Linked DNA regions of Homo sapiens: all the other regions are linked to region 2. The links are contacts of gene promoters, found by promoter capture Hi-C in human tissues and cell types (Jung and others, 2019). All regions are on one chromosome and are shown on one strand. The core of a region is centred on a gene start or on the middle of the fragment in contact, and the rest is flanking DNA. Distances in the headings are between cores, read along the strand shown. Region 1 overlaps LOC105377277 (a long non-coding RNA gene). Region 2 holds the start of CXCL3 (C-X-C motif chemokine ligand 3). Region 3 has its middle 56 kb from the start of CXCL1. Region 4 has its middle 13 kb from the start of PF4.

Region 1 (3,075 bases), core at 127-2,626, 80 kb after region 2:
ATGGAAATGCTTGGAGAAAGGGATTTTAAAGGGAGATTCTGAAGTCCTTGGGAAAGTCCACAAGTGGACGGGGCTTCATAGCCATGACAACAAATGACATTGTCTAGGAAACAGTGAGTCATGGCATGCTGAGCTTAGAATGGAGCCAACAGAAGGAACCTGGCCTCGGACACAGAATCTTTTGGCTGCTGACCCAGAATGACTGTGAAAGACTAACACTGTTTAGCAGATTTTTCTTGAGTGTTTACTATGTGTGAGGTTCCTGGGATTCAGATTCAGCTACTATTGTTAAGAGGAAATCAACCAGGAAGTCAGTTAAGAAAAGGTACAGTGGGTTTTCAGGCTGCAGGGTACAGAAATGTTCCCAGGCCTGGAGAACAAACCTTCAGATCTTAATCTGTACAGGGAGGTGGAGGGTGAAAGAATGATCTTTCAGGAAGCGTTCAAGTAGGGCTGCTGCTTGGATTGAATTTTAAAGAATGCATAGGTTATATGCAGGATCTATATATAGATCAATAGCTTCCCTGAGCACATGTTCAAAGGTTCAAACATTTGGGGTCATTTCTTTGCAAGAAGAGTCACTCAGTGGCCTGAAAGTCCATGCAGCAACTTCCCTCATGAGAGCTGCTTCCGCAGCAGGCCCAGGGTTTCTAAAGGAGAGAGCACACAGATGTAAACACTCTGTGGTTCTGAGGACTGTCACCTCTTCTTTTCACCCATCACTTTTGTCTTAAGAACTCTATGCTCAACCCTAATTCTCAGTCTCTATATCAATTCCCACCAAACAGATGCAAAGTCCTGTCCATTTGCTTCCATGAACTCTGTACTTATCGATGATATAATACTCTGCTGACTACATTTTACTTGCCACTTCATATCCTCACTAGACTGAAAGACCTATAAGGGAAGAGATATCTTATTTATATATCTTTCTTATATATCTTTCCCATATATCCTATTTACTGTTGTACTTACAACTCCTACAACCGTGCTTGGTACATAGGGTGTTGAAAAAGTATTTATGAAATTATGAATAACACTGATTCTATTAAATAACATTATTAAGTTAATGAACAAATAATTAAGCTTAGTAAAATATCAAAAGTTAAAGATATCAAAAACTAAACACTTATAGAATAAAAGTTTGCTTTTCTTGTCTAGTGAGCACATTAATACAGATTTTAACCCTCTTTTGTCCTCTCCTGATTCACACGAAAAAATACATAGGCCTCAGCTGTTCATTGGTGCCAGATAAAAATAAAGTACTTTTTAATTGTAATTACTGCAAAGGCTCTTCAACAGTGCACAGTATACCAGGAACTGAAACTTTTCTTATAAAACAAAATAAATATCAGTAGAAACAGAGCAAAGGCATTTCATTAAGTATTATGGACTGAATTGCATTCCCTGTAAATGTGTTAAAGTCTGAACTCTCAGTACACCTCAGAATATAACTGTATTTAGAAATAGGGCCTTTAAAGAGGTAGTTAAGATTAAATGAGATCATGTGGATTGGTCTTAATCTAAGATGACTGGTGTCATTATAAGAAGAGGAGAAGACACCAGAGATGCAACCACACAGAGAAAAGGTCATGTGAGCAGGGATCCCCAAACCCTGAGCCAAGAACTGACAGTGGTCCATGGCTTGTTAGGAACCATGCCACACAGCAGGAGGTGAGCCAAAGGCAAGGGAGCAAAGCTTCATCTGTATTTATAGCCGCTCCCCATTGCTCACATTACCTCCTGAGCTCTGCCTCCTGTCGGATCAGTGGTGGCATTAGATTCTCATAGGAGTGCACACCCTATTGTGAACTGCGCATGAGAGGGATCTAGATTGCATGCTCCTTATAAAGTCTAATGCCTGATGATCTGAGGTGGAGCTGAGGTGGTGATGCTAGCTCTGAGGAGTGGTTGCAAACACAGATTAACATTAGCAGAGAGGTTTGACTGCCCAGAGACCATAATAAATCAGTTGCCTGCAGACGCATATCAAAACCCTGTCAGTGAGTGGCAGGTGATAATTCAGCTGCATCTGGTGGCTGGCTTTATAGTGGCAAGTGCGTTGATGTACTTCAACTGTACAGCTGCATCTGGTTGCTGGCTTTATAGTGGCAAGTGAGTTGATGTACTTCAACTGTACAGCTGCATCTGGTGGCAGGCTTTAAGTCAGAATCTGACACTTATTTTAGTCCATGTGTGTCCTGCCCATTATTTTATTTGTCACTTCCATCCGCACCTCTTTCCTGCACTGCACACTTGTCTCAATCAGTTTTGGTAAGCCCACAAGCTAACCCTAGCCAAAATGAATAAAAACAATCATCACTGGAGAGTTTCTTTGAAAAGTGGGAAAGAACCAATGATGAGACAGCAGAAGACTCTAAGACTGCCAACAAAAAGAAAGCTGCATTTAAAAGAAAATACTGGCCGGGCGCGGTGGCTCATGCCTGTAATCCCAGGACTTTGGGAGGCCGAGGCGGGCGGATCACGAGGTCAGGAGATTGAGACCATCCTGGCTAACAAGGTGAAACCCCGTCTCTACTAAAAATACAAAAAATTAGCCGGGCATGGTGGCGGGTGTCTGTAGTCCCAGCTACTCAGGAGGCTGAAGCAGGAGAATGGCGTGAACCTGAGAGGCAGAGCTTCCAGTGAGCCGAGATCGTGCCACTGCACTCCAGCCTGGGTGACAGAGCGAGACTCCATCTCAAAAAAAAACAAAAAAAACAAAATACCATGAGTCCTACTTAAATTACAGGGTCATTGCACCAGATAATTCACATTCTCCAAGCCCTCTTTTTATAATATGTGGTGGTTGGCTATGCAATGAAGCCATGAAACCTTCAGAACTGCTTCACTGCATGGAAACCAAGCACCCTGTGTTAAACAAGACTTTGGAGTTTTTCAAAAGAAAAAAAAAAGATGAACAAGAAGAACAGAAGCAATTATTGAAGGCCACCATTTTATCAAATGTGTCTGTACTGACAGCATCATATCATTCGTAGTGGCTAACCACATTGCTAAAGTTAAGAAGCCCTTTGCTATTGGTGAAGAGTTGATTTTGCCTGCTGCTAAGGGTAT
Region 2 (2,883 bases), core at 149-2,648:
AGGGTTACTGTTGCAGGTGCTAAGGAAGGCTGCTCTTCTGTCACTCTGAAGTTGCTTGGAGGGATGTCCCCATGCAGACTCTCTCCCAGCCCTCCACTCAGGGAAGGTCTGTCTGTACCCACTGCCTTCTATAGCAGAAAACTTGCACTCCTGAATGCTTTTTTTTTTTTTTTCAAGAAAGAAGTGGCTGTGGACTCAACTAGATTCTTGGTTTGAAAAAGCCAAAACATATTGGTCACTGATTGTCACATTGGGTTAGAAATGTCCATTCATGATCTCCCTTAAGCTGCACACAACCCTATGAAATAACTACCATTATCTACCCTATTTTGCTAAAGCTCAAAGAGATTAAATAACGTTGACAGGGATCCTAGCCTTGAACTCACTGAAGGTGTTACTGCAAAGTTTCTGCTCTTCACCAAGAAGGCTTACAGGCCCAAAGTGCCCAAACCAGACATTGCATTTTTCAGGTCTGAAGCCCATTAGGGACTGAGGTAAACGTCCCAAAACAGGCAGGGGGCATTTTGGCATTGTTAGTCAAATTTACTTAGTATTCTAGAAACCCACATTTACCCTCCCAGGGGTTAGGCCTGGAAATGGAAGACACTGAAATACTGAAATATCCTCTGGCACCAGAGCAGATTAATAACCTTAATGGCAACTTTAATTGTGAAAATAATAATCACAATTTCTAGTCCTTCAGCTAACTCTTGGGGTTCCCTGATTTTATTTTTAGGGGGCAGATGCCAGTATTTCTGACCAACGGCTCCAGTCGCCTGTGTATATGGAAATTACAACTCACTTGTTCAGTATCTTTTCGATGATTTTCTGAACCATGGGGGATGCGGGGTTGAGACAAGCTTTCTTCCCATTCTTGAGTGTGGCTCTGCAGAGAGAAGGGAATTCCGTGAGACAGGAGGTCGGGCTGGGGACAGGGTTGGGGCAGCGGGAGAGTCGGGGACCCCAGCGGTGGCAGCGGAAGCGCGGGGCGGGACTTACATGACTTCGGTTTGGGCGCAGTGGGGTCCGGGGGACCTTACATTCACACTTTGGATGTTCTTGAGGTGAATTCCCTGCAGTGTCTGCAAGCACTGGCAGCGCAGTTCAGTGACCACGGACGCTCCTAGGGAAGAATAGACTCGCTGATTGAGCGGGGCTGTCGGCGCGGGGCGCCCACCCCAGCCGCGTCCGGCCCGGGGACCCCAGGGCGCCGGGACCCACCTGCTGCGCGCCGGCTGGCGGCCACCAGGAGCAGGAGCAGCAGCGCCACCCGCAGGAGCCGGGGATTGCTGGGGGCGGCGGAGAGCGTGGCGTGGGCCATGGGGCTCAGCAGACGCGTCGGGAAGCTGTGCGAGAAGCGGGAGAGCTGGCGGGGAGGTGCCTGCGACCCGGGCTGTGTGGCTCCCCAAGATCGGCGAACCCTTTTTATGCATGGTTGAGACTGGAAAGCCCGGAGCGGCCGGGCCAGGGAAATTCCCGGAGCTCCAGATCGATCCGGAGTCCCGAAGGAAGGCGACGGCCCCGCCCCCGGGGTGGAGTCGGATACGGGTAGGGGGAGCCCACTGGTGACGCCTACGCCTCGCCCTCCAGAGTAACCCCCGTGCACTCTGGGACTTTGGGATATTCATTTTCTGCCCCAAATTCCTGGAGAGGCAGTGAGTCCACCTCGCTGAAGATACAGCCTGTGAGGGGGGACCTTAGGTCCCCGATGACCCCCCGCGTACGGGGTAGGGTTGGAGGAAAGAGCTGGGGGGACCCGTGAGAACCAGGACAGGAAAGGCACGACTTCTTTAGAGGAAGAGAGCTTTGTCTCCTTAGTTATCAGATTTGCTGGGGACCCGGAGACAGGCGAGTTTTCCCTCAGCTATCCTCTCTCTATATAGTCTATCCTCTATGTTAACCTCCCGGTCTCTGCCTCTCTCATTTTCGGTTTAGCGTTATTTCATGTACATCTAACATCATGCTCTCTGTGAAAGTACAGCCATCGTCTCGGATTCCAGAGAAGAATGTTCTACTTGTTCCTTGTTTTGCATATTCTCTAATCACACTTAGAATACCTTGTTTACGTTTTCCATTTGGTGGCAACAGATTATCAGTGTCAAAATTTGAATTCAGTGTTAGTGTCCGTGGAAGCCAGGGCTGTATAACATGACCTCTTCTTTTGTATCCTGCATAACGTCCTTCCTCCCTCTGAAATGTTGGAACTTCCTAAATCCCCTGGAGACCTTCTCCCAGTGGGAGGGATTCAGATTTGATCTAGAAATATGACACTGGCTGTCACTCTGAAGCTGTGGAGGGGCTGGGTCCAGCAGGATCATGGGCTCAATGTTTCTGGTTCTGTCTTTGCGAATGACACTAGAGAGTAGGTACCTGGTGTGCAAACACCATTCCCACTGAAGGAGCAAACAGCTGCCTGCTGATGACATTTAAACACCAGATCACACATAAAATCACATTTCATTTACTATAGAATTTTCTGGTATTCAGCACTGGGGGATCTTTCTCTGGAAACATTAACAGGGCACTTTTTTTTCTCGTCTGGATTTTCAGTCTTTTAACCTGACACCTTTGTCCCTTTTTCTAGTTTTAGATAATGTATTTTGATTTGTCATTAGGTTTTAGAGGGTTTAAGTGTGATTCTACAAGTTGGTCTCAGACCTCTTTGAGACGTGGAGTAGGATGGAGGAGAGGAGAAAGGAATGGCATCTGCCTGAAGCACAGGGCTCTACACAACCCAGCTCAAGGGATAAGAGTCCTTGCCCCTAACCAAACACAGAGCGTGCAACTGTGCTGCCTGTATTTAGTTGCAGAGTATCACTTGCAAGTTGTTAAGCCTCTCTGTGCCTAGCCCAAGGTGGTTATGAGAAATGAGTTAACATTTGT
Region 3 (2,962 bases), core at 384-2,883, 110 kb before region 2:
ATGTCAGCCTTATGTAGTAAGTCAGAAAGGGATCTAAATTTTGACACTGTGAAATAATTTCTGTAAGTTTGAATTTTTTTTCCTGAATATTTGGTAGACTTCCCTATTAAAAATGGCTGGTTTTGTGCATTTCTTGGGTAGGAAATATTGTAAGTATTAATTCAACTTTATTAAAGGTTACAGGTTTATTTAAATATAATATTTCCTCTTTAATTTACTGTTATATGTTTCTACAAATTTGTCCATTTTACCTATTTTCACATTAATCGCCACCAAATGATAACATCTTCTTGTTAACTTTGTAATGTCTGCAGTCTTGACCAATCACACCAAAATCTATTCAACAACCAACTCTTGGTTTTGGTGATCCTTTCTATTGAATGTGTGTTTCCAATTTCATAAATTTCTACTCTTATATCTAGTTCCTTCTCTTTGTCTTTTTATTTAATTTAGATATTTTAAGTTCATTTTCTAGCATAGCATTTTAAAGCTGTAAATGTCCCTACATTACCTAGGTCTCATGTGTTCAACATACGGCAAAATTATCAGTTGATTCTATATATTTTCTAATAAGTTTTTATGTATTTTCTGATTTTCTGATTTTTGAGTTATTTAGAAGTGATTTTATTAATTTCCAAATATATGTTGCTTTCAGTATTGTTGAGTTTTTTTCTAAAGTACAGTTTTGTGGTTGATACCTAACTTATTCACACAATAATCACAGATCATTGTGTGTATCACAACAAACATCGAAAAGTATTTTTGAGTCTTGCCTTCTATCTAAATATGTGGTCAGCTTTCATAAATGGTCCATGTCTTCTTGAAAATACTATGTTCTCTGAAACTATCACCATAATCTTTGCCATGAACCTATCCATTACTTCCAAAAATTTCCTCCTTAACTGTTTGTTATTTTTCTTTTTGTATATCAGTTACACCTCAATAAAGTGGGCTTTTTTAAGAAAAGAATATACTCTGTAGCTATTGAAAATTGAGTATGTGGAGATATATATTAATATACATACATATACATAAAAAGCACAATTAATACATTTCATGCAATGGATATGTATATATTGATATATATATCATGTATATATGTTTTTACATATATTGATATATATATCATGTATATATGTTTTTACATATATATGTATATGTGTATATATATCGATATATATGTGTATATGTATCGATACATGTATATACATATATACATATATATCGATATATATGTAAAAACATATATACAGATATATCCATTGCATGGAATGTATTAATTGTGCTTTTTAATAGTCTGTATCTTAATGTCTTTTCTGCATAAATTATCAATTATTTAAAAATATATGTTAAAATTTTCTAATGAAATATTTATATATTTCTTCTTGGACTTATTTATGATATTTTATATATTACATATTTTGAATCTATCATATACAAATAAATTTGATTTCAATATACTCCAGACTAAGTGACTTTTTATAACCATGTATATACTCTCTTAATGTCTAGAAATGTTTGGGAAAAAAAAACTCAGCTGACACCTTGATCTTTGACTTCTAGCCTCCAGAATTGTATGAAAATAAATTTATGTTTTTAAGTCACTCAGTGTGTGGTACTTTGTTATCAAGCAAACTAATACGTTACTCATGCCCAGTGGTATTTGCTGTAGATGATACAGAACCATTGAAGACTCCCAAGGCAGAAAGGTAACCTAATTAGGTTTGTGTTTTAATGGAATCACTTTGCAGTGAATAAGATTGGGGGGCAATAATCAACACTTTTAAAGAAAAGAAATTCTAACCCAGAAATTCATATCCAGCCAAACTAAGCTTCATAAGCAAAAGAGAAATAATGTCTTTTTCAGACAAGCAAATGCTGAGGCATTTTCTATAAAGCAACCACATAAATAAGTCTGCAAAATAACCAGCTAACATCATGATGACAGGATCAAATCCAAACATATCAATACTAACCTTAAATATAAATTGTCTAAATGTCCCAATTAAAAGACACAGAGTGGCAAACTGGATAAAGAACCAAGACCTTTTGGTATGCTATCTTCAAGAGACTGATCTCACATCTGATAACACACATAGGCTCAAAATAAAGGCATAGAGGAAAAATCTGCCAAGCAAATGGAAAACAGAAAAAAGCAGGGGTTGCAATCCTAGTTTCTGATAAAACAGACTTTAAACCAACAAAGGTCAAAAAAGACAAGGGCATTACAAAATAGTAAAGGGTTCAATTTAACAAGTAGATATAACTATTCTAAAGATAGATGCACTGAACACAAGAGCACCCAGACTCATAAAGCAAGTTGTTAGAGACCTTCAAAGAGACTTAGACTTCCACACAATAATAGTGGGAGACGTTAATACTCCACTGACAATATTAGACAGATCATTGAGAAAAAATTAGCAAAGCTATTCAGGACCTAAACCCAGCACTGAATCAAATGGACCTGATAGATACCTACAGAACTGTCCACCCCAAAGCAACAGAATATACATTTTTCTCATTGCCACGTGGCACATACTGTAAAACTGATCAGATAATTGGAAGTAAGAACTGAAGTCATAACAAAGAGTCACTCAGAACACAACACAATTAAATTAGAAATCAAGACTAAGAAATTCACTCATAACGATTACAAGGAAAATGAAAAACGTGCCCCTGAATGACTTTTGAGTAAATTGTAAAATTAAGACAGAAATCAAGAAATTCATTGAAACTACTGCGAACAAAGATTCAACAAATCAGAATGTCTGGGACACAGCTAAGGCAGTGTTAAGAGGGAAAGTAACAGCACCAAATGCCCACATCAAAAAGTTAGAAAGATCTCAAGTTAGCAACCTAAAATCACAACTAAAAAACCTAGAGAACCAAATGTAAATCAGTCCCAAAGCTAGCAGAAGACAAAAAATAACCAAAATCAGAGCTGAACTGAAGGAGATTGAGG
Region 4 (2,860 bases), core at 174-2,673, 69 kb before region 2:
TGAGAGAATGAGAAACCCTGGGACACACACTTGGTCCATAGATCTTTGCAAGCCCTGGTCTCAGGAGATGCCCTTGTGAGCTCATCCCACAAAAACCTTCAGACTGATATGCAAAGCTATGGGAGTCTCAGCAGAGCCACTGCTGAGGCATAGCCAAAGTCCCAAAAGCCTTTGATCCCCAGGCATTCCAGCATTAGTGGCTTCAGCTCTGGCAAAGGGGGAAGTTAGTCTCCTTTACACACATCCAGGAAAGGAGCCAAATCCAGGGGGTTGAGCAGCAACTGTCTACAGGCTTCACTTACACTGCACCTCACAGGATGAGACCCATTGGTCTAGGACTCCAGCCTCCCACCACTGGGGTTATGAGGCTAGTAGCAGCTCTGCACTTCCCCAGGACAGATCTCCAGGGCAAGGGGGCAGCAACTTTCCTGCCTTGCAGCCCTCACTGTTGTTGCCTTCAGGCTCTGGAGAGCCTACAGTGACTAGGGACTGGCACAAACCCCCAGCACAGCACAGCTGTCCCACAGAAAAATGGCCAGACTCTTTTTTTTATGTGGATCCCACATTTCTCCTCAGTGGATGGGAGCTCCCAACCTGGGACTCCAACCACTTCCCATCAGGGCTCTCAGGTTGGTAGCAGCTCTGCATTTCCATGACACAGAGCCCCTAAAGGGAGTGGTAGGCTGCCATCTTTGCTTTCTCACAGCCCTCACTATTGTTGCCTTCAGGCTCTGGAGAGTATGTGGTGACGAGGGACTAACATGTAACCCTAGCACAGTGCAGCTGCTTCATCAAAAAGTGGCCAGACTGTTTTACATGCAGGTTCTCATCCCAACTTCTCCTTAGTTGGTGAGGCCTCCTAACCTTGGACTCCAGCACAACCACCCTGCCCCCACTTGAACACTTCAGTTGGGGGCAGCTCAGCATTTCTCTGAGGAGGAAATCTCAGAGTCAACCCACAACCTCTTGGCCATTGCAGCTGCAGTAGTACTGCCCTAACCACCTTTCGGCTGAGGAAGGAACAAAGGGCCTAGTCACTTCACTGGCACCCAAGCACTCCACAGCCACCATACAGAGAGGAGTTCAGTCTACCTTCCCTGTGAGCCCCCAGCACCCACTCTTCAGCAGGCAGGGCCCCTGCTCAGGTCCACAGTTTAGATGCCCCACAAACAGCTGAGAATACCCACTGGTAGTGGCTCTGAATTTCCTGGGAAGGGGCTCCAAGAGGCAATCAATGTTCCTTTCTGCCACTGTCACAACAATGTTCTGTCTCTTCTGTTCACAGGCTGGGGAAGAAACTGAGCCTGAGGGCTTCACCCAAGCTTACAGCACACCATAGTCACTATACAGAGAGGAAGCCAGTCTCTCCTCCCTGTAAACCCTCAACCCCCAAGTCCCCAACTAGGAGGGGTCCTCAGCTCAGGCTACCAGTGCAGCCACCTCAACCCCTGGCTGAACATTCCCAGGAACTGTGGCTATATGGTTCTCAGAGGTAGAGTTCCCAGAGGCTACTGAAAACCCCTCTACCACTGCCACTGCAGTGGTACTGCCCTTTCTGCCCTTGCCCTGGGGAATGAGCAAAGACCCTTAGTGCTTCAACTGCACCTTGAGCAAGCATTAATTGCCCTATGGAGAGGTTACTGGTCTGTCTGCCCTCTTTCCCCGCCACTCACTTGTCACAAGGTATGCCTCCCTGGCTTGGGCTCACAGGACAGCTGCCGCAACCCAAGTTGATCACACTGACTGATAGCAGCTCCACACCTCTCAAGATGGAGCCCCAAAAGATAAGTGAAAGACTCTCTATCACAACCACTGCAAAGTTCCTTTCCCCTGTTACCTCTAAGCTTGGGAGGGAACATAAAGCCTGACATTGCCCCAGAGCTGAGATACACAGCCCAGCAGTGTTAAATTGACATCTTCAGCCAGCACTGAAGTGAGAGAGGAACTCTTACTTTCAGAGTGCTGAGAAGGAGCATGGCTATAGTCATGAAGAAATACAGAGAAGCCATGTGACTGAGCAAAAGCTTGCCTACTGGCCATTACACTTAAGTACCACCTACTGGATTGCAGCCCAAAATTTCAACACCAAAAATAATTTGTTAATATACCCTTCTGTGATATCAATGACAAGAATTCAGCTAAAAATAAGGACCCTGCAAAAAGCTTTGGCCCTCTGAAAGCATCTAAAAAAGAAGTCTACTGGTGGTCTTCAATTTATACCACAGTTAAAGGTAAACCCATCCACACAGATGAGAAAGAACAAATAAAAGAACTCTAGCAAATCACAAAGCCAGAGTGTCTTATTCCCTGAAAATGGCTATACTAGTTTCTGAGCAAGGATTCTTAACTGGGCTGAAATAGCTGAAATGACAAAAATAGAATTCAGATTATGGATAGGAATGAAGATCATCGAGATTTGGGAGACCATTAAATAATTCAATACAAAAAATCTAACAATCACAATAAAATAATACAGGAGCTAATAGATTAAATCATATTTTTAAAAAACATCTGATAGAGCTGAAAAATACACTACAAGAATTTTGTAATACAGTCACAAGTATTAGCAGCAGAATAGATCAAGTGGAGGAAAAAAATCTCAGAGCTTGCAGGTTGACTCTGAAATAACTCAGTCAGCCAGAAATAAAGCAAAAACAATAAAAAAGAATGAACAAAATATCAGAGCAACATAGAATAATATGAAGAGACCAAATCTATGACTTATTGGTGTCCCTGAAAGAGCCAGAGAGAAAGCAAGCAACTTGGAAAACACATAATCTTGAGATTCTCTAGTATCAAAATAAAAGAAAAAAATGTCAAAGGCAGATAGAGAGAAAGGTACGGTCACCTACAAAGAGAA

Evidence for each region. The method cuts DNA at HindIII sites, captures the fragments that hold promoters and counts their contacts. A contact is called where the count stands out against the background at its distance.
Region 1: a contact is called between a fragment that was not itself captured here and the fragment with the promoter of CXCL3 in region 2, in 3 of the 25 tissues and cell types used here (H1 embryonic stem cells, ovary and thymus).
Region 3: a contact is called between a fragment that was not itself captured here and the fragment with the promoter of CXCL3 in region 2, in 3 of the 25 tissues and cell types used here (adrenal gland, hippocampus and stomach).
Region 4: a contact is called between a fragment that was not itself captured here and the fragment with the promoter of CXCL3 in region 2, in 2 of the 25 tissues and cell types used here (H1 embryonic stem cells and pancreas).

The regions. Positions count from the first base shown.
Region 1 is chr4:74,117,080-74,120,154 of GRCh38, forward strand. The region is part of intron 1 of LOC105377277 (a long non-coding RNA gene); the gene reads right to left. It also overlaps a transcript of MTHFD2L not described here. Among named protein-coding and RNA genes, the nearest start is that of CXCL2, 19 kb to the left of the region's middle. The HindIII fragment of the contact is 3,408 bases long and covers 1-3,075 here.
Region 2 is chr4:74,037,291-74,040,173 of GRCh38, forward strand. It overlaps CXCL3 (C-X-C motif chemokine ligand 3), which reads right to left and starts at 1,399. Exons shown (of 4, transcript NM_002090.3): 1 at 1,222-1,399; 2 at 1,000-1,123; 3 at 803-886. The coding sequence starts at 1,321. LOC105377275 (a long non-coding RNA gene) reads left to right here and starts at 1,655. Exons shown (of 2, transcript XR_938875.3): 1 at 1,655-2,883. The HindIII fragment of the contact is 6,255 bases long and covers 407-2,883 here.
Region 3 is chr4:73,923,958-73,926,919 of GRCh38, forward strand. No RefSeq gene overlaps it. Among named protein-coding and RNA genes, the nearest start is that of CXCL1, 56 kb to the left of the region's middle. The HindIII fragment of the contact is 9,274 bases long and covers 1-2,962 here.
Region 4 is chr4:73,967,848-73,970,707 of GRCh38, forward strand. No RefSeq gene overlaps it. Among named protein-coding and RNA genes, the nearest start is that of PF4, 13 kb to the right of the region's middle. RefSeq lists an enhancer at 31-532. The HindIII fragment of the contact is 4,172 bases long and covers 1-2,860 here.